Regions from separate parts of the Homo sapiens genome. Here all the other regions are linked to region 2. Evidence: promoter capture Hi-C in 16 types of primary human blood cells and fetal thymus (Javierre and others, 2016). All regions are on one chromosome and are shown on one strand. The core of a region is centred on a gene start or on the middle of the fragment in contact, and the rest is flanking DNA. Distances in the headings are between cores, read along the strand shown.

What was found. Contacts are between HindIII fragments. The CHiCAGO score rates a contact against its expected background, and 5 or more counts as called.
Region 1: a contact is called between a fragment that was not itself captured here and the fragment with the promoter of DNAJC21 in region 2, in 1 of 17 cell types (neutrophils). The highest score is 5.7, in neutrophils.
Region 3: a fragment that was not itself captured here is called in contact with the fragment with the promoter of DNAJC21 in region 2 in 1 of 17 cell types (total CD4 T cells); the score reaches 5.5 in total CD4 T cells.
Region 4: a contact is called between a fragment that was not itself captured here and the fragment with the promoter of DNAJC21 in region 2, in 1 of 17 cell types (total CD4 T cells). The highest score is 7.9, in total CD4 T cells.
Region 5: a contact is called between a fragment that was not itself captured here and the fragment with the promoter of DNAJC21 in region 2, in 3 of 17 cell types (fetal thymus, monocytes and total B cells). The highest score is 8.1, in fetal thymus.
Region 6: a fragment that was not itself captured here is called in contact with the fragment with the promoter of DNAJC21 in region 2 in 1 of 17 cell types (neutrophils); the score reaches 8.4 in neutrophils.
Region 7: a fragment that was not itself captured here is called in contact with the fragment with the promoter of DNAJC21 in region 2 in 1 of 17 cell types (total B cells); the score reaches 5.2 in total B cells.

The regions. Positions count from the first base shown.
Region 1 is chr5:43,313,792-43,316,491 of GRCh38, forward strand. No RefSeq gene overlaps it. Among named protein-coding and RNA genes, the nearest start is that of HMGCS1, 1.7 kb to the left of the region's middle. RefSeq lists enhancers at 1-10, 17-533, 534-1,048, 1,143-2,342. The HindIII fragment of the contact is 1,495 bases long and covers 507-2,001 here.
Region 2 is chr5:34,928,235-34,930,934 of GRCh38, forward strand. DNAJC21 (DnaJ heat shock protein family (Hsp40) member C21) reads left to right here and starts at 1,325. Exons shown (of 12, transcript NM_001012339.3): 1 at 1,325-1,682. The coding sequence starts at 1,586. LOC124900961 (a long non-coding RNA gene) reads right to left here and starts at 1,447. Exons shown (of 2, transcript XR_007058731.1): 1 at 1,415-1,447; 2 at 1-899. RefSeq lists silencers at 1,001-1,470, 1,481-1,550, 1,581-1,780 and enhancers at 1,809-2,454, 1,921-2,090. The HindIII fragment of the contact is 5,598 bases long and covers 240-2,700 here.
Region 3 is chr5:43,121,737-43,124,436 of GRCh38, forward strand. It overlaps ZNF131 (zinc finger protein 131), which reads left to right. Exons shown (of 7, transcript NM_001330707.2): 2 at 303-441; 3 at 1,473-1,574. The coding sequence starts at 318. Among named protein-coding and RNA genes, the nearest start is that of ZNF131, 2.2 kb to the left of the region's middle. RefSeq lists enhancers at 1-265, 266-833 and a silencer at 1-119. The HindIII fragment of the contact is 1,187 bases long and covers 768-1,954 here.
Region 4 is chr5:43,598,273-43,600,972 of GRCh38, forward strand. The region is part of intron 1 of NNT-AS1 (NNT antisense RNA 1); the gene reads right to left. Among named protein-coding and RNA genes, the nearest start is that of NNT, 3.6 kb to the right of the region's middle. The HindIII fragment of the contact is 3,540 bases long and covers 1-2,700 here.
Region 5 is chr5:43,551,455-43,554,154 of GRCh38, forward strand. All of the region lies in intron 2 of PAIP1 (poly(A) binding protein interacting protein 1), which reads right to left. Among named protein-coding and RNA genes, the nearest start is that of PAIP1, 4.3 kb to the right of the region's middle. The HindIII fragment of the contact is 3,206 bases long and covers 1-2,700 here.
Region 6 is chr5:43,473,176-43,475,875 of GRCh38, forward strand. The region is part of intron 1 of TMEM267 (transmembrane protein 267); the gene reads right to left. Among named protein-coding and RNA genes, the nearest start is that of TMEM267, 9.3 kb to the right of the region's middle. The HindIII fragment of the contact is 7,857 bases long and covers 1-2,700 here.
Region 7 is chr5:43,490,189-43,492,888 of GRCh38, forward strand. C5orf34 (chromosome 5 open reading frame 34) reads right to left here. Exons shown (of 13, transcript NM_198566.4): 9 at 2,532-2,700; 10 at 2,027-2,121; 11 at 443-541. All of the region lies in intron 2 of C5orf34-AS1 (C5orf34 antisense RNA 1), which reads left to right. Among named protein-coding and RNA genes, the nearest start is that of C5orf34-AS1, 7.6 kb to the left of the region's middle. The HindIII fragment of the contact is 2,120 bases long and covers 291-2,410 here.

The DNA of each region.
Region 1 (2,700 bases), core at 4-2,503, 8.4 Mb after region 2:
TGCGGGCCAATGGGTACTCCGCGTCCCACCGCTGGAGAGATGGTCAAATGTGGGAGGCGAGGTGGTCCCAGCTTGGGAGTCTGTCAGGTTGCCTAGCAACCAGAACTAGGCTTCACCTGAAAGATTTCTGAAATACTGTACTTGATTTGAATTCAGTCTTAACGTTTTCTAGCAAAGTGTGCGTAGATTGCAAATTGGAGCAGAATACTTCACCCAGAACTTGTATATGTGTAAATAGTCTAAATACCCGATTTGTAAATACTCAAATATTGTCTCCTTTATTCAAAACTACCTTGACTTAAAGAAAACAGAACAAACAAAAGTGCTCTTGAGACAAAGCTTTCTAACTAAACCTAAAACAAAATGGTTTCAGGATTAGGCATCCGTGGGGAGGGTGCAGAGCCTTGCCTGTGAAGGGAAGTTGATACTGAATTCAAGGATTTTTGCCAGGCCATGCACTCTGAGGAAAGGGACTCCATTTGGCCTGTTGCCCACTGTATCTTCTAAGCTTCATATGTGGTACCTGCCAAGTAAAAGGCTGTGGAAAGGCCACGTAATTGTCGGCATAGTAAATCCATCGGATACGGACTGCCTAACTCCCCCAGCAAATAGAGAGGAGCAATTCAAGCTAGAGGAATTCACTGAAACACTATTTGGGGGAATCCAAAGGAGGACACTTGTGGCTTTGCAATAAACTCTGCCTCTATCTGGTCAGAGAGAGAAGCCATAATACTTAGCTTTGGTGGGGGACCATGAGTGAGGTTCGGAGTTGTTTGTATCTCTCCCCATCTCAATTTAATTAACAGGAATGCTATTGATAAGGGGTCATTGGTAATTCTGTGATTCACACAATTATTGTTATGGGAGATTCTTTTAACCACTATAGATGCTAACCTAGTAAGACACATTCTCAGCAGCAAAGTGGCAAAATATATTGGAAATGGAACCACTGTGAAGTGGTGGCATAAATGACTTGGGGGAAGAGGACCACTCAGTAATGATTTCCATTCCACAGTATTGCCCATGACTCACTTCATATGTATGTAAAGTAACTAGATAGTAAACAGAGAGAGAGACATTGCCTGATTATGATCAACAGCAATTTGGGGTGGGGTAGGAGATTAAAATTCTTGGCATATTGGAATATGCTGAAAGGCAGTAAGGACAAACACAAGAAAGAAGATACAGTTTTGTCGTTAGGAATCGCAAATAATTCCAACTCCAGGAGTACATAATGGGAAATGATTAGCCAGACGGTCATGAGAATGACCATCTTACACAACCGGAAATTTCTACAAGGAACAGACCGTCTTTTTGATCACGTTAATCTTCAATTAAGCAAAGTGAGCATGATTATTGATTACTGGGAAGCCAAGCAATGGAGAACAAAAAGGGTTAGTAATTAGATACAGAAGATCTTGTTATAAATAAAGTTTCCATGCTGCAAAAGAAATAGCAGTCGAATATAAAATTTTCTTTTTAATTCTCAGCAAGGCAAGGTACTTCTATAGAAGGGTGCACCCTTACAGATGGAGCAATGGTGAGTGCACACTTGGACGAGGGAGGGAAAGGGGTTCTTATTCCTGACGCACGTGGTCCCCACTGCTGTGTCGTTCCCTTATTGGCTAGGGTTAGACTGCACAGGCTAAACTAATTCCGATGGACTAATTTAAAGACAGTGATGGCGGGAAAAATGGTTATGAAATGAGTCAGGGTGAAGAATGAATTGGAATGAGTCAAGGTGGAGTACGTAATCAGAATGAGTCAAGGTGGAGAATGAGTCAGGTTGGAGTAGGTAATCAGAAAAGGTTGCTTTACTAGGAAGCTACGTTTAAAAGTAGAAGGCAAAGAATGGAACATACTGACATATTAATTCTTTGAAGAGAAATTTAGAATTCATATTTAACAACTTCCTCCTCTTGCATTTTTCTTACAGCTTTCTCTTCAAACTTATTTAACATGTCTTGATTTAGTTGTTCTGCTTGATTTTCCAAAAGAAGAAGCTTTTCTGGATGAGGTGGAGGATAGTTAAGGGAGGTTTTAGTAAGTACCGTTTCTATGAGCCTCTGCACCAACCCACAGATGCATGGTATGACACAGCACCTGACAAGAATAAGTACACCTATTATGACTATGAGGGAGGTAAGAATTGGGGCTATTATTCCTTTCCATTTACCGAACCACTTTTCTAGCCATCCTGTAAAGGGATCATTTACCCGTGAGTTGCTGGCTAACTCATTGGATAGAGCAGTCAGACCTCACAATGCCTTTGTTATACTTCCATTAGGGGTGGCGTTGTTTGGGATGAAGGTGCAACATTGAGTTTTAATCATAACGCAAACTCATCTTCTTTCTGCTAATATCATGTCTAAGGCTATCCTATTTTCCCAAGCCATCTGGCTAATAGCCCCTAATTGCTCAGCTATTCCTTTAACAGCATCTCTAGTGTAGTTAATACATCACTGTTGGTTGTAATAGATGTCGTTTAACCAATCTGCATTTTTATTAATTGTCACCCACCAAAATATTGACTCAAATCCTGCAGCTATTTGATTTCGGGCTTTAAATTGATCTCGTATTCCCTGTGGGACTCCAACTGCATCTAAATAGACGTGAGAGTCGAAAGACCCATAAGGGGCTTCTCTCGCTTTATGATGTCTTATTTTTCCTTCCTCTGGTTGATAAAATGCCAAGGTGAAA
Region 2 (2,700 bases), core at 75-2,574:
TTTCCCTTTCCGTTTTTTTTTTTTTTTTTGTCCCTCCCTTCCCCCCGCCCACCATCCCAATTCTGTTCTCAGGAGGGGAAAGGTTTCATTCTCCCCCAAACTCAGACTTCTCAATCCTTATCCATTACCAATTTACCAACTAACTGAGACTGTGTAGAATCTTCCTCTGGAAAAAAGGGAAGTGTATGAATTCTGAGTAGTGAGTTGGTTGGTCAGTGGCGTGTGAAGTAACCTGATGAAGCTTAGCGTGGGTTTTTTATTTTACTGGGGGCAGCATATTGGGGAAGAGAAGGATAACCTTACTAAACCGCTTGGGTACGCCAACCCTGTGCAATAGATATTAGCAACATAGCTAACCATACATGGTTAGTAAATACAACCCACACCTAACTGATGCATGTAAACATTCCACATTACAGTGAAATATATTGGTGTATTAATGCATTTTAATAATTATGGTATTATTTTGATACCTTTCAAAGTGTTTGGAATAATTGTGCAGATAGTCAGATCAACCAAAACCTACCAGTTAAATACTATCCTTTAACTGCTTTCTTAACCTAAACCAATCTTGGAAAGGTAGGATTAGAGGCCAGAAAGTTAGGATTAAAGTGTGTTGGATGGATAGATCAGCACAATTTCATCCATGTTGGTGGTAAGGCTTTTCATTAAGTGTGTTGATGCTTCCCTTTTAAATTGTTTCCGCTTAAATAATCTAACTGTCCTTTCTCAAGCATATTGGTCAAGATGATCAATACCAGATATCTTAAGTGGCAGCTGAAGAGAATTAAAGAGATTAAAAAAAAAACCTGATATTCAGTCCAACCGAATTCTGCTACTGTATTAGCTGAGGAGGCTTGAGCCAACCACTTGACCACTTGGAGTCTGAATCGCCTTATCTATAAAAACGGGGATCCATTGAGAAATTATAATCAGATATTTTCCAGAATCCTCTCCCATCCCAGCTCCTATCTCCCCCTTCAGCCCTCAGGTCGGCTGCCACTCACACTGACCGCCATCTGTGCCCCTCACAATGACACCAGCGTGGCCCTGCCTCCCTTCCGCGCGGCCCCGCCTCTCGCCCCGCCGAGGCCCCGCCTCTCACACCAAGGTCCCGCCTTCCTCCTGTTCTTCCCGGCCAAGGCCTACCTTCCTCCCACGCGGCCCGCCTCTTTCCCCGCCAAGCTCCCGCCTTTCTCCTGCGCGGCCCGCCTCTCTCCTCGCCAAGGCCCCGCCTTCCTTCCTCGGGGCCTCGCCTCTCACCCCGCCGAGGCCCCACCCCCTCCCGCGCGGCCCTTTCCGGCACAGAGCCCACCCCTAGCCCATGCGAAGCGGCGGCCGCCGGCACCGCCCCCGCCGCGCTCCCGCTTGCCGCAGCCTGCGTCGTCTGCCGCCACCGCGCGCCTTCACTGACCTACACCACCGCCGCCGCCGCCGCCGCCGCCGGGCTCGCTGGCTGGCCCGGTGCGGGCGGCGGACTCCCGCCGGAGAGGACTGCCAGCGCCGCCGCCGCCGCCGCTTCGGCCCGGGCCCGGGCCCCGACCCCGTCCCGGGCCCCAGCGCCGGCCGCCCGCCCGGTCGGGCGATGAAGTGTCACTATGAGGCGCTGGGGGTGCGGCGCGACGCCAGCGAGGAGGAGCTCAAGAAGGCCTATCGGAAGCTGGCCCTGAAATGGCACCCGGGTAAGTACCTGTCCCGCAGCCCCCGCGGCCACTCGGAGAAGCCCGGCCCTCCCCGACCTTCCCTTCCCCCGGGCGGACTCCGCGGAGCCAGCAGAGAGGGACCTGGCGGCCTAGGAGCTCCTTGCCCCGCCCGGCCAGTGCCCGGAGCCGCCCTGCCCGTCTCGGTGGGCGAAGCGCTCTGCCCTGGCGCACCCCGGCTCACACCCCATCTCCTCATACCCGCGACCCCGGCCCCGCATCGCCACTGTAGGGGGAAAACTGCAGTCCAACAACCTCACTTGCTCCCGCTACCGGGTCGCAGACACCACGAGGGAGCAGTCGGGAACTCGGAACTCAGACCTGCCCCAGGCTTGCTTTTCCCTGCGTCCCTTGCAGCGCAGCCTCTCGGTGTTTTTCCTCCGCTGCCCTCCACCTCGTCCGGGAATCCCAGATACTTCAACCTGATGTATGGCTCTTTTCGTTTCTTAGTTAAGAAGTTAAGACACGGGAGCTAGTAAAATATCTTTTCAATAGGGATGCGCTTTTTTCGCTGTTTTTTTTTTCTTTTAATAAGCTGTTTAAGCAGACCTTGTACTTCACTTTGGACATGATTCTGCCGGGGAAGGTTTTAATCAGGCGGCTTCCCCAGTAAAGTTTGTATGTTTACTTAGAAGTATCCTTCCTTTGGATGTTTCATTGGTCTGTAATCCAGGCCTGTGTGACTTTTATGAAGTAATCTGATCTTCCAGGCTGGGAAACTAAGAGAGTAGTTGACTTTCAGCTTTTTGAGGTTCATATGAAGAGGCTTTCATATTAGCATTCATCAGTAAACACGGTTACAGAGTATCCAATATATGCAAGTCACTGCACTCTACTAAGTAGATTTGGAAATGCTGAGACAGGGGTCTTAGAGTCTTGTTAGGAAAACAACTTTCTGCCTTACACAAATGAAAAGTTAAATACAACTGCCAGAAAAAAATCGCAACATACATAATTGGTGGTTAGATTAATGGAACAACTAATATATGCTCCAGGAATT
Region 3 (2,700 bases), core at 111-2,610, 8.2 Mb after region 2:
CCCCTCCCTTGTTGGACTTGCGCGCCCTGGCGCTCGGAACCTCCGGCGCTGTGCCCACCCCGCTCTAGCTCGCGTCTCCCGACTCCAATTAGGTCAGGCTCGGAGTCCCGCGGCCGCGGCTCCGGTCTCAACGCTCCGGGGCCGCTCGGCTCGCCTTTCTTCCCTCGCCTTTCTCTCCTCTTGCTTCACCCTCCCCCCTTCTTTTCACGTTGCTGGTTTTTTTTGTTGTTGTTTTATGCTTTAGGGGTTTTGTTCCTCGGCTCGAGCTCATGGGTGTACATTATCATGCTCTTCTTTTGTAGAGCAGCCCGACGGCCATGGAGGCTGAAGAGACGATGGAATGCCTTCAGGAGTTCCCTGAACATCATAAAATGATCCTCGACCGATTGAATGAACAGCGAGAGCAGGACCGGTTTACTGACATCACCCTAATTGTCGACGGTGGGTAGGGCAGTGGGCAGAGGAGCGAATTTTTGGCTTCAGTTTTTTTCTGTCCTTCGGACACCCGCCTTTTTTTTTTTTTTTTTTTTTTTAACCCATCCTCTATGGTCTCCCTACCAAAGTCTGCAGAGTGTGTGCACTGGGACCAGATTGCACTTGTCAGTGTCCACTCACACAGCGTGCTGCAGAAGGCTGGTTGGTCAGTCATGCCTTCCACGTAGTCTGGTGTTCATCTCATTTTAACTTCTTACATCCTGTTGAGTGCAAGATGATGTCGTTGGGGACAGATTGTCTCAAAATGTTTGGTTGATAGCCTCTTGTTGGTAAGCTTTGAGAAGTCCCTTACAGGAGTCATTTGGGAAGTGTTGATTTTTTTTCTAGTTTCCCAAATGGTCTTGAAGGGAGAATGAGAGATTCCATTGCAGCACTCATACCCCCTTTGAGAATCTCCAAAATAAAATGGGGTCTTTACCAGCCTTAGGAGTTGCCTCTATAATGGAAGGAAATCCAGCGTGGGTATGTTTTCTGTTTAGCGAAAATAGGTTTCTCAAGGTAACCTGTTTTTAAAATTATGGGTCTACCATAGATGGAGCTTCCAAATATTAGGCATATTAAAATGTTTTTCATAGCAGACATATCCAGCTTTGTGCTTACGGTTTTTTTCTCTCTTTCCAAATGATATGTGACCTTTTGGGTTGTCCTTTTATTTAGCAGTTTCAACTGAGTTGGATATGCTTCTCACTACTTAATTGGAAACAACAGAGTGTCAAGAGGCTCCTTACCTAGTGTTGTAAATTAGGCTTTATAAAACTAAAGGGGTTTGAAGTGAAGATTTAGCTTTATATCTAATTGAGATTAACATTTGCCAAGATAGCTGCCAAGAATATTCTGCATTTAGTTCAATAATTTCTGTAGTTACGTAATGAAGGAAGACCTATTTTGCTTTATATGATTTTTAAGTCTATTTTGTAGTTATACATTTGATTTTCGTGCTTGTGTATGATTTTCTTTTTTTTTCTTATTTTACCTAGGACACCATTTTAAGGCTCACAAGGCTGTTTTGGCTGCTTGTAGTAAGTTCTTCTACAAATTCTTTCAGGAGTTTACCCAAGAACCATTGGTGGAGATAGAAGGTAAATGATTCTTGTTGTTTTTTTATTTAATAAATCAAAGAAGCCATTTTATTTAAATGCTTGTTTTAAATACAATACTTAGCAAACAATTGGTGAAGCAGTTTTAGACAGTTTATCAAGACACCATAGGAAATAGGCATCAGTAGTTCCTGTAGGTAAAGGTAGATAAATTGTTCTTTTGATACCTGAGAAGTCTTACTTTCAGTGAAGTGCTTGGTTGAATGATCTGCCAGGAAAAACTTAGATGGTAGATGTTGGTCTTTTCCATTGTGGAAACTGGTGGTCATTGTTTTTTGAAAACAAGTATTAAACGTGAATTACTATCTTTGTTCAGTGGGCTTATGTTTCAGACTGCTGGAGATGCTGCAGGTTACAGTAGAAGCTTTTACTGTACTCTATAGCAGAAGTAGTGATGTATTAGCAGAGGTACAGATGACATGCAGTGTGAAGTGGGCTGCCATAATAGGGAGAAAGCTAGGAAAAATGAACTGAAGTAGCATTTAGAGGAAATTCTGGCTCTACAATGGGATGGATCAATACCTGTTACCTTGAAGCAAAAAGTGATTTTTGTACTTTCTAGACATTTTTCTAATAATAACCTGCCAAGTGCCAGGCGTTGTGATATGTAGTTTTGTGTATTGTCTAAGGCTCACAGCAATCGTTTGATGTTGGGCAGGATGGCTTGTGCTTGTAGTCCCAGCTACTCGGGAGGCTGAGGCAGGAGGATTGCTTGAGCCCAGGAGTTCGAGGCCAGCCTGGGGCAACATAGACCCTGTCTTTTCTTTTCTTTTCTTTTCTTTTCAAAAAGGGAAGTGGTGTTATTTGTAATAATTTACACTTCAGGAAGCAGGCTCTAAAAGGTTACTTGCCCAGGGTTGTCCAACTAGCAAGGAATTAAGTTTGTGCTATTAATTACCATGCTTTTTCTTCTGCTACTGCAGTAACTCCTCCCCTACCACCAGCATCAAAATCTAAAACAGCAGGAAATAAATGTTTGCCTACGTAATTACAGAATTTTAGCTTCTTTTAGGGTTCTTGGGTTTTGGTTTTATATCTATTTCATTGTGTACGTATTCTTTGTTCTGAATGGGTTGCCTAGAAACTCCTTTTTTCCCTTTGATGCCTA
Region 4 (2,700 bases), core at 140-2,639, 8.7 Mb after region 2:
GTGGTGGCGCACACTTGTAATCCCAGCTACTTTGGGAGTCTGAGGCAGGCAGATCACTGGAGGCCAGGAGTTCAAGACCAGCCTGTCCAACATGGTGAAACCCCATCTATCAAAAATACAAAATCAGCCAGGTGTGGTGGTGGTCACCTGTAATCCCAGCTACTTGGGAGGCTGAGGCAGGAGAATCACTTGAACCCATGAGGCAGAGGTTGCAGTGAGCTGAAGTCACCCCACTGCACTGCAGCCTGGGCTACAGAGTGAGACTGTTTCAAAAAAAAAAAAAGAAAAGAAAAAGAAAAAGAAAGAATTGATAATAAATGGTAGGAGGAGAGGAGATAGGAGAGTATAACGAACCAGTGGAGGTGAGATATTCTGGTTTTTATTTTTCTATTATGGGTAACATGTAGCATAAAAAAAGATCTTCAAAGAGATGATGCTTTGCAAAACTTATATTAAATTAGAACTTTTAATCAAATGCAAAATTTAAAAAGTGAAGTATTATAAAAATGTTAAGCGTGTTAAAGCAAACTAAATATGGCCTGAGAAAGACTCCGTACTTCTATATTTGAGTCTTTGTGGATGAACTGTAATCTAACTTAATAAGCAAAATTGAAAACCTGACTTAATAACTATGCACCTGTAACAGGAGCTGAGTGGTGGCCAATCCCAGCAGCCATACTTCAACCACTCATAGACTACTGAATGTTCAAACTGCATTCAAATAAGGCAAATGCTGAGCTGTAACCAATCTCACTGTTTCTGTACCTCATTTCCAATTCCTGTACCTCACTTTACCTTTTTTGTCTATAAATTTGTTCTGACCACAAGACACCCCTGGAGTCTCTGTGAATCTGCTGTGATTCTGGGGGCTGCCCGATTCATGAATGGTTCATTGCTCAATTAAACTCCTTTAAATTTAATTTGGCTGAAGTTCTTTTATCAAGTACTATTATGGGGTTTTATAATCAAGTAGTTTGATAATGGTGATAAATATATGATATATAGAAATTGCAGGAAAAGTTCAATTAGGTTGAGTGCTTATTAAACCAGTAAACCGGGTATATAACTAAGGAAATTTTTCCCCAATTATTAATACAAAATGACTTTCACCTGAATTTCCCTCAAATAATTTGGATTTTCACTTTAAACTCAATAACTGGCAAATCCATCCCTCTTCAAAAAACAAAGAAACTTCCCCCCAAAGACCCCCAAAACCCTCTTTACAGTGTGTTACCCTTAAACACACAGAATGCCCATGTAGTGGGCTGAATAGTGTTCCCCCTCAAAGTATCTGTGTCCGCCTTTATTTGGAAATACAGGCTTCGTAGATGTAATTAGTCAAGGATCTCAAGACAGAAACCATCCTGGACTTAGGGTGGTCCTTAAGACCACTGACTGGTATCTTTATAAGAGAGAGGAGAGGGAGGTTTGGACACAGGCACATAGAGAAGAAGGCAATGTGAAGATGGAGGCAGAGATTGGCTGCATTTATAAGCCAAGGAACACCAAGGACTGCCAACAACCAACAGAAGCTCTGGCAGAGGCATGGGATGGTTTCTCCCTCAATGCTTCCAGAAAGAATCCACCCTGCCAACCCCTTCATTTTGGGCTTCTGACCTCCAGAACTGTGATAGAAATGATTTCTGTTGTTTTCAGCCACCCAGTTTGTGGTAATTTCTTACAGCAGCCGTAGGAAACTAACATAGCTTCTATTCCTCACCAGCTTCCCAGACCCCCTAAACTATGATTACACAGATAATTTTTTTTTTTTTTGAGATGGAGTTTCACTCTAGTCACTCAGGCTGGAGTGCAATGTGATCTTGGCTCACTGCAACCTCCACCTCCTGAATTCAAGTGATTGTCCTGCCTCAGCCTCCCAAGTAGCTGGGGTTTCAGGTTTCAGGCACCTGCCACCATGCCCAGCTAATTTTTGTATTTTTAGTAGAGATGGGGTTTCACCCTATTGGCCAGGCTGGTCTCGAACTCCTGACCTCAGGCAATCCGCCTGCCTTGGCCACAAAGTGCTGGGATTACAGGCATGAGCCACCGCGCCCGGCCAATTTTTTATATTGATTTAAAAACCCATAGGTTTTTGTAATTGGTACTTACATGAATATGCAAAGGACAATATTCACAGTAGTATGCCATGAGCTAGTTTTTTAAATGCTCACAGAAATTTCAAATGCAAACTGGTTTTACTTATGTAGCTTAAACAAATGCCAATTGTTGAACTTTGTGCTGGCTCTTTAATATCAGTTCTCTTTTTTCTTCCAGTTAATGTTGATTAGCATCAGCTCATTTAGTCAGTTAACATTTATTTCCTAAAATCAAACACTCTTGATTGGTCAGCCTGGGAGAAGAGGGCTAAGATTAAGGTTAGTGATGGTTCCCTTAAAACCTGTCGAGTGTCTGCATTGTTAGACACACTGAAATCTAAGAATCCCATCTCTCTGGGGCTGTTCACTTTACTAATAATTATTTATAAAAGGGAAGCTGAGACAATAAATTGCCAATAACCATGTAACATAATAACCACAATGAAAAGACATTAAAGCTACCTTTTCTGTAGCCTGATTTTACCTAGATGGTGGGTTTTGGTAACAAGCCATCACTAGAGGTCAGTTTTTGATTACATGTCTTCTCAGGTTCAGCCTATGTTTTGATTTTTGGCTACTGGGCACCTCTCTGGTTTTTAGGCTT
Region 5 (2,700 bases), core at 182-2,681, 8.6 Mb after region 2:
CCATTATAAATATTGACATTATAAAGTTGTGAAAGCAGTTAGGCATAATTGTACACATTCATATACTTAATGTTAACTACATACATGCGTGAATTTTATAACTAAAAACTAGTCTTAAGTTTTTGATATACAGTTACTAGTTTTACAGACTTGTAGTATCCTACCACTATTAATGACAAGGAACAGCAGAAAGGCAAAGGTACGGGTCCCAGCTGAAAGTACTAATTTCCTGTTTCCATCAAATGTCATTCTTCGTGGCAAAAATGCTGCTTAGAGCGCTGATTTGCAATCTTTTTTTTTTTTTTTTTAAAGTCAACAGAACTCTCTTTTAAGAAAATGTAAAATCTGATCAGTAAAAGAAGAAAGTAGAACTGCTCTGAATATAGCAGAACAGAGGATCCAGAGCCTGCCATTTTAAGCAAAAAAAGGAGGCATAGAGTATTTGGAACAGACAGGCACTCCAACGTGTTTGAATCAAAGCCTGCATTACTTCTCTAGCACCAGATTTTTTAAAGCCACAAATTTCTTCAGTCTTCAATGTGGAGTCAAATGGCTTCCAAACAGAGATATTTTCAAGTTTTATTTTTCTTAGAATTCTATGGGAGATTGGGAGAAATAGAAAATGTACTTTTTCATGGTAGGTACTCTATATACATTGTCAAGAGATGAGAACCTATTACAGAACCGTGGGAATAAAAGAAAACTGATCAGACACTACAGAGAGTGAATATAGTCACGACTACTTTAGCTAGCTGGATTGAATTAAGGCAAGGGTGTGCAGGAGAGGTGAGTCAATATGCCACCAAGTTCTTAGTGTAAGCAGCTAGTTAGAAGAGATTCGCATGAGATAAATAATTCTTACACTGTGTATAGATTTTATACTTGCATTTGAATGTGAGGTCCTCAAGAAGTGGTCAAATAAATGAAAATGTATGCCTAGAGTTCACTAGAGTTCAAAGGAATAATTAGATGTCAGGGTTATTAGCACATAAATAAGTGATAGATTCTATGGAATAGGCGGGATTAGCAAAGGAGGTAATAAAATGGAAGAAAGAACGTCACCAACTGTCATCTGAGGGGAAAAGGAATGATCTGCAAGTTGGGAGGATAAAGTACTGCCACAGAAGCCAAAGAGGTAGGGGAGAAGAGATGCTCATAACAACAAATGCTACAGAATAAATTCATAGGTTGAAATCTGGAAGAGAATTATCATTGCAGAGTCTCGGGAGTGAAGGAGATTATACTCAGAGAGAAAAAAGAACAAAACTAGTACCTCAAATACTTAGTTCTTAAAACAATGGGAGGGAGCTTCTGATAGACTAAAAAGGTACCTTTGCACCTAGCACAGGACCTGGCACATGGGGATTTATAAACTGAATAGATCCTACAGTGCTCAAAGTTTTAAAATGAGATTTAGGAAGATAAATTTAAAAATCGGAAGAACATCAGTCACAAAAATAGTATCAATACAATTAGGGAGATCAGACTGCAGAGGTCTGAACAGTGAGAGACAGTGAATAATTTTACCTATTGGAGAATGATACTACTGCAAGGCAGAACAAAAACTGGGAAGTAACTTGAAGAGGGATTCTCTTAGAAAAAAAGCTCGTTTTTTTGCAGGGGAGGAAGGGGACTTCTGTCTCTTCATCAATGCTTTATGAATTCCTATGTTAAATTTTTGGCTCTGGTAAGTGAACTGTGACAAATATTCAAGGCATAATGGTTTGTCTGAGAAGAAATAATGGCCAGGGATAAATGGATATAGCAACTCACTGGTAAGAAGACATGGAAAGTAGGAAATTCTAGCAGCAGGATTAGAGGAAGAACTGAAGATAAAAGGGCTTGGTGCCTTGAAAGAGTTAAGAAAGCACAGCAGAAGACTACCATAAAGGCTGTTAGAAAAAGGATACCAGGAAATAGATTTTCATGTGTAGAACAAAAGCAGATTCAATAAATGTCTGCAAACTGAGCCAGGAGACTACTAGAATAGAGACTCCATGAAGACAGGAATTTCTGTCCATTTTGTTTGTTGCTGTATCACCGGTGCTTGACTCATGATAAGTACTTGACTATTTGTTGAATGAGTGAATGTAGCTAACTTTGGATTATGGCTACTAAAAGGAAATGTTTCCTTTGCAACAAGAGCTTATCCTAAGAGTCGGGGGAAAAAAGGATCCTGCTGTTCTATGACTAATTGGATTGAGAAAAACTCTCTTAGCCTTAACTATGGGTAAAGATTAGGGTAAACCAGTAAGGCTAGAGAATATACCAGAACAGGGGTAGTAAGCCTGAATGCCTGTAGAATTCAGGTAGATTACAAATGAATGAAATAAGCCAGAAAGCAAATTAGAGCTCACAGACTCCATCTAAAGAGAATGCCTCTACTCAGCTCCAACCAATTTTTGCTGTATCAAAATGCCAGTCCACTAAGGCCAGATTTTATGACAAACCAGAACATTCAAGTTTCTAATATCTAATTTAGGTATTGGTTAATTAAATAAAACAACTTAAAGAAAAAACAAACCCATTCAGGGCTAGAGAAGACACCTGCAGGCCACACAGGTTTCCAGGTGCCAGGCTGCAATCTGTTTTGGTAAATTGAGCACAGGAGGTGCTGATCTATTAGAGGATGGCAAGGAATGCCTAAAAGATGCAGTGGCTCAAAGTAGGTGGACTAACATGACTTTATATACTGCTCGA
Region 6 (2,700 bases), core at 159-2,658, 8.5 Mb after region 2:
AAGACCTAGTACTTGATAGCACAACAGGGTAACTACAGTGAATAATAACTTAATTGTACATTCAACATAGTTCTGGCCAGGGCAATCAGGCAAGAGAAAGAAATAAAGGGTATTCAATTAGGGAAAGAGGAAGTCAAATTGTCTCTGTTTGCAGATGACATGATTGTATAATTAGAAAACCCCATCGTCTCAGCCCAAAATCTCCTTAAGCTGATAAGCAACTTCAGCAAAGTCTCAGGATACAAAATCAATGCGCAAAAATCACAAGCATTCCTATACACCAATAACAGACAAACAGAGAGCCAAATCATGAGTGAACTCCCATTCACAATTGCTACAAGGAGAATAAAATACCTAGGAATACAACTTACAAGGGATATGAAGGACCTCTTCAAGGAGAGCTACAAACCACTCACTGATCAAGGAAATAAGAGAGGACACAAACAAATGGAAAAACATTCCATGCTCATGGATAGGAAGAATGAATATCATGAAAATGGCCATACTGCCCAAAGTAATTTACAGATTCAATGCTATCCTCATCAAGCTACCATTGACTTCCTTCACAAAATTGGAAAAAACAACTTTAAATTTCACATGGAACCAAAAAACAGCATGCATAAATAGCCAAGACAATCCTAAGCAAAAGGAACAAAGGTGGAGGCATCACGTGACCTGACTTCAATCTATACTACAAGGCTACAGTAACAAAAACAGCATGGTACTGGTACCAAAACAGATATATAGATCAATGGAACAGAACAGAGGCCTGAGAAATAACACCACACATCTACAACCATCTGATCTTTGACAAATCTGACAAAAAAAAGCAATGGGGAAAGGAATTCCTAGTTAATAAATGGTGTTGGGAAAACTGGCTAGCCATATGCAGAAAGCTGAAACTGGATCCCTTCCTTACACCTTATACAAAAATTAACTCAAGATGGATTAAAGACTTAAACGTAAGACCTAAAACCATAAAAACCCAAGAAGAAAACCTAGGCAATTTAGGACACAGGCATGGGCAAAGACTTCGTCTTTTGTTACCAAAAGCAATGGCAACAAAAGCCAAAATAGACAAATGAGATCTAATTAAACGAAAGAGCTTCTACACAGCAAAAGAAACGATCATCAGAGCGAACAGGCCACCTACAGACTGGGAGAAAATTTTTTGCAATCTATCCAACTGAAAAAGGGCTAATATCCAGAATCTACAGAGAAACCAATTTACAAGAAAAAAGCAAACAACCCCATCAAAAAGTGGGTGAAGGATATGAACAGACACTTCTCAAAAGAAGACATTTGCCAGGCGTGGTGCTCACGCCTGTAATCCCAGCACTTTGGGAGGCTGAGGCAGGTGGATCACCTGAGGTCGGGAGTTCGAGACCAGCCTGACCAACACGGAGAAATCCCATCTCTACTAAAAATACAAAATTAGCCAAGCGTGGTGGTGCATGCTTGTAATCCCGGCTACTCGGGAGGATGAGGCAGGAGAATTGCTTGAATCCAGCAGGCAGAGGTTGTGGTGAGCCAAGATCACGCCATTGCACTCCAGCCCGGGCAACAAGAGCAAAACTCTGTCTCAAAAAAAAAAAAAAAAAAAATGAAAAAAGGCTCATCATCACTGGTCATTAGAGATATGCAAATCAAAACCACATCTCACGCCAGTTAGAATGGCGATCATTAAAAAGTCAGGAAACAACAGATGCTGGAGAGGATGTGGAGAAATAGGAACGCTTTTACACTGTTGGTGGGAGTGTAAATTAGTTCAACCAATGTGGAAGACAGTGTGGCGATTCCTCAAGGATCTAGAACTAGAAATACCATTTGATCCAGCAATCCCATTCCTGGGTATATACCCAAAGGGTTATAAATCATTCTACTATAAAGACTCATGCACACGTATGTTTATTGTGGCACTGTTTACAATAGCAAAGGCTTGGAACGAAATGCCCATCAGTGATAGACTGGATAAAGAAAATGTGGCACATATACACCACAGAATACTATGCAACCATAAAAAAGAATGAACTCATGTCCTTTGCAGGGACATGGATGAAGCTGGAAACCATCATTCTCAGCAAACTAACAGAACAGAAAACCAAACACCGCATGTTCTCACTCATAAGTGGAAGTTGAACAATGAGAACACATGGACACAGAGAGGGTACACAGGGAGGGGAATACCAGGGCCTATAGGTGGGTGGGGGGCTAGGGGAGGGATAGCATTAGGAGAAATACCTAATGTAGATGACAGGTTGATGGGTGCAGCAAACCACCATGGCACGTGTATACCTATGCAACAAACCTGCACATTCTGCACATGTACCCCAGAACTTAAAGTATAATTTAAAAAAAAGTCAGAAACAGTATAGCTATTATAACATCGTTTTGGCGGTTTTAATCAATGTAATGAGGAAAAAGAATAAAGGCAGGAGAGGGAGGGAAGAAAATGTATCATTACATTATCAGGAAGGAAAAGATAATTACATTAGTTTGCAGGTGAAATGACTGCCTACCCAAGAGAACCAACAGAAAACTGTTGGAATTTAAGTTGAAAAATGTGGTTAGTTCAAGGTATGAACTAAAACAATTTTTCAATATAATAGCAATAATCATAAGATGGGAAAATGAACATTCACAACAGCAACTCAAAATGCCAAGAATTAAAATAGCAAGAATGAAACAACAAAACTCTAT
Region 7 (2,700 bases), core at 101-2,600, 8.6 Mb after region 2:
TTATTTGATCTGCCAGTTAATTTGGGAGAAGTAACTAATATGACAGAAATTATTTAAAAATCAATGTTTTCTGAAAGCTTATGTTATTAAACCTTTTATTTCCTTCAACATTACTAAAAATTTAAGAATCCCCTTTAAATTTTTCCATAAAGTTTTCAGGATGAATTTGTCACATAAAAAGAGCCACTCATTTTCATGTTAAGTTTTCAATGCAAGGTTTTCTTACCTTTAGGTAAAATAGAATATGATGAAATGTAATAAATTAGATGTCTGATTAGAAATTATTTTCAAGCTTAAGCTATCAAAAATACTTTAGGAGTTAAACATATTCAAAACTAAGAAAGTTTTTTTGGGGAAAAAAGTCTCAGTTTACCATTTGACATTTTAATTTTTTTTAAAGTATTAGCTCTTCTAAACAGATTTAAGTTTAAAAGAAAAATACCAATTTTCTTGGAGAACAGAAGATGACGAATGAGTGGGCATCTCTCTGGGACTAGTCTGGGTCAGTCTCCTGCACCATGATGTTACTGTTGTCACATATCTAAAGTGAATACATTAAAAGAAATACTTGAAAAATGAACTTGAATACATTATAAAATTATAAACAAATGTAAAAATAAGACAATTTGGGAAAAAAGGATAAAGAAAAAATGTTAAAGTGAAGCATTTACTGGGCAATTCTCAAAATATTTTTCACTGGTCATAGAAAAGCCAAATTTTTTCCATTATTCATCAAGAATAAAATGATTTACTTATATTTGTGATTAATACAAGTGACATTTAAGAATCAAAATAAAGGCGATATTTGGATTTCATTTAAAGTTCAATTTTAAATGTTCTAATTCTTTTAGTTTTTCAAAGTAAAATGCGTTTAAGTTTTATCAAAAAATATTCACACAAAATAAGACTGACTGAGCATTTGCTTACTAAAATTTAAACCAAAAAACACCTGCTAATGCATATACACATATGCTTGTATGCATATGTGTAATTATATGTAACTTACTACATATCTAAAACAAGTATCAAGTTTAATAAAATGAATGATCTGAAATGATTGGCTGAATCAATAGAAATGTTTGCTAAAGAAACTATCTTTTTTGAGGCAAATCATTAATAGCAATGAATGAGCACTTAGACTGAAACACAATAAAACCCAACAGAAAAATACATTCAAGAGGTAACAAAAAGCTATTATTTTGTGAATATTCTCAAGTGAAATCACTAAAATGTGAAGACTATCACAAGATTTACTGTAATAAATTAGATAAACCAAAAGAAAAAAAATTCATAAAAAGCTGAAGACTCTTCCCCATTTTAAGATAATCATTGCGTAATTTTATCCACTTTATAGAAATATACAGAATTTCAGTTATTTGTGGTTGCAAATCTTATTTCAAATTGGCTAGAGGATTAGTTAATTGTTAACACAGCTGACCATATCCAACCTCCACAGCAAATCAGTATGTCTATAACACATTTCATTTTGAAAAGTTACTTGAATACAAATGAAATGATTAAAGCTGACCTGAAGGCCGGGCATGGTGGCTCATGCCTGTAATCTCAGCACTTTGGGAGGCCAAGGTGGGCAGATCACCTGAGGTCGGGAGTTCAAGACAAGCCTGACCAACATGGAGAAACCCCATCTCTACTAAAAATACAAAAATTAGCCGGGCATGGTGGCACATGCCTGTAATCCCAGCTACTCAGGAGGCTGAGGCAGGAGAATCGCTTGAACCCAGGAGGCGGAGGTTGTGGTGAGCCGAGATCGTGCCATTGTACTCCGGCCCAGGCCACAGGAGCAAAACTCTGTCTCAAAAAAAAAAAAAAAAAAAAAGCTGACTTGATCTATTTAGTTATGCTAAACACAAGTACAGCTATCAACTCTGAAACGACTGAAATGCCTTCATTATTATCCACATGGAAAAACTAAAAATATATATAACACTTAAATAATGCTTATTGCTTATTCTCTGTTAGTTAAAAGTAAAACATAAAAATAATTTTTAAAATTGCTTTTCAGTACCTTTCATATGGTTCAGGGTGTTCAATCTGAATTAACTGCTCTTGTCCATCAGGAAAAGTTAACTTACACCAACCTAAGTTAAGACCTTGATTTACCTGAAGAAGTAGAAAGATAAGTTTTATCATTTTAGAACTGAAAAAAAGAACATAAACAACCTATTCTAACTTCATTAACTTAAAGAAATAAGTAGAGGAATCATTAAAGATGCAACAGTTTAAATGTTGTTTACATGAGATATGGGTGTTATTTAACCACCACTCATATAGGTAATTATCAAAGCAAATGAAAATACTAATCCCTTTCTCTATAATCAGTTATCTTTAGAAAAGTGACTATTTGTCAAATCATTCTGATTTTTGCTAGGAAATCCAAAGAGATCAGTAAAGCTTCTTGACAGATTTTATACTTCAAAAAATGAACTGAAATAGTGTGGTACTTTGTTTTCTTTGTTCTGTTTTCCACAGATTACCAATAAAAAATAGATCTAAGTCTGAAGTATACCCACCTGTCTCTTCTCAATAGGAGAGCTGAAATTCCAATTTAGGGTTAGAGTAATGCCATCTAAAAAGATAGCATGTACTTTGTCATCAGAGTAGGCAAGAAATCTTCCCACACTGGGTATGAGTGACTCTTTCAAAACCAAAGGCAGTATATTGCTATCATTTATCCCAGGT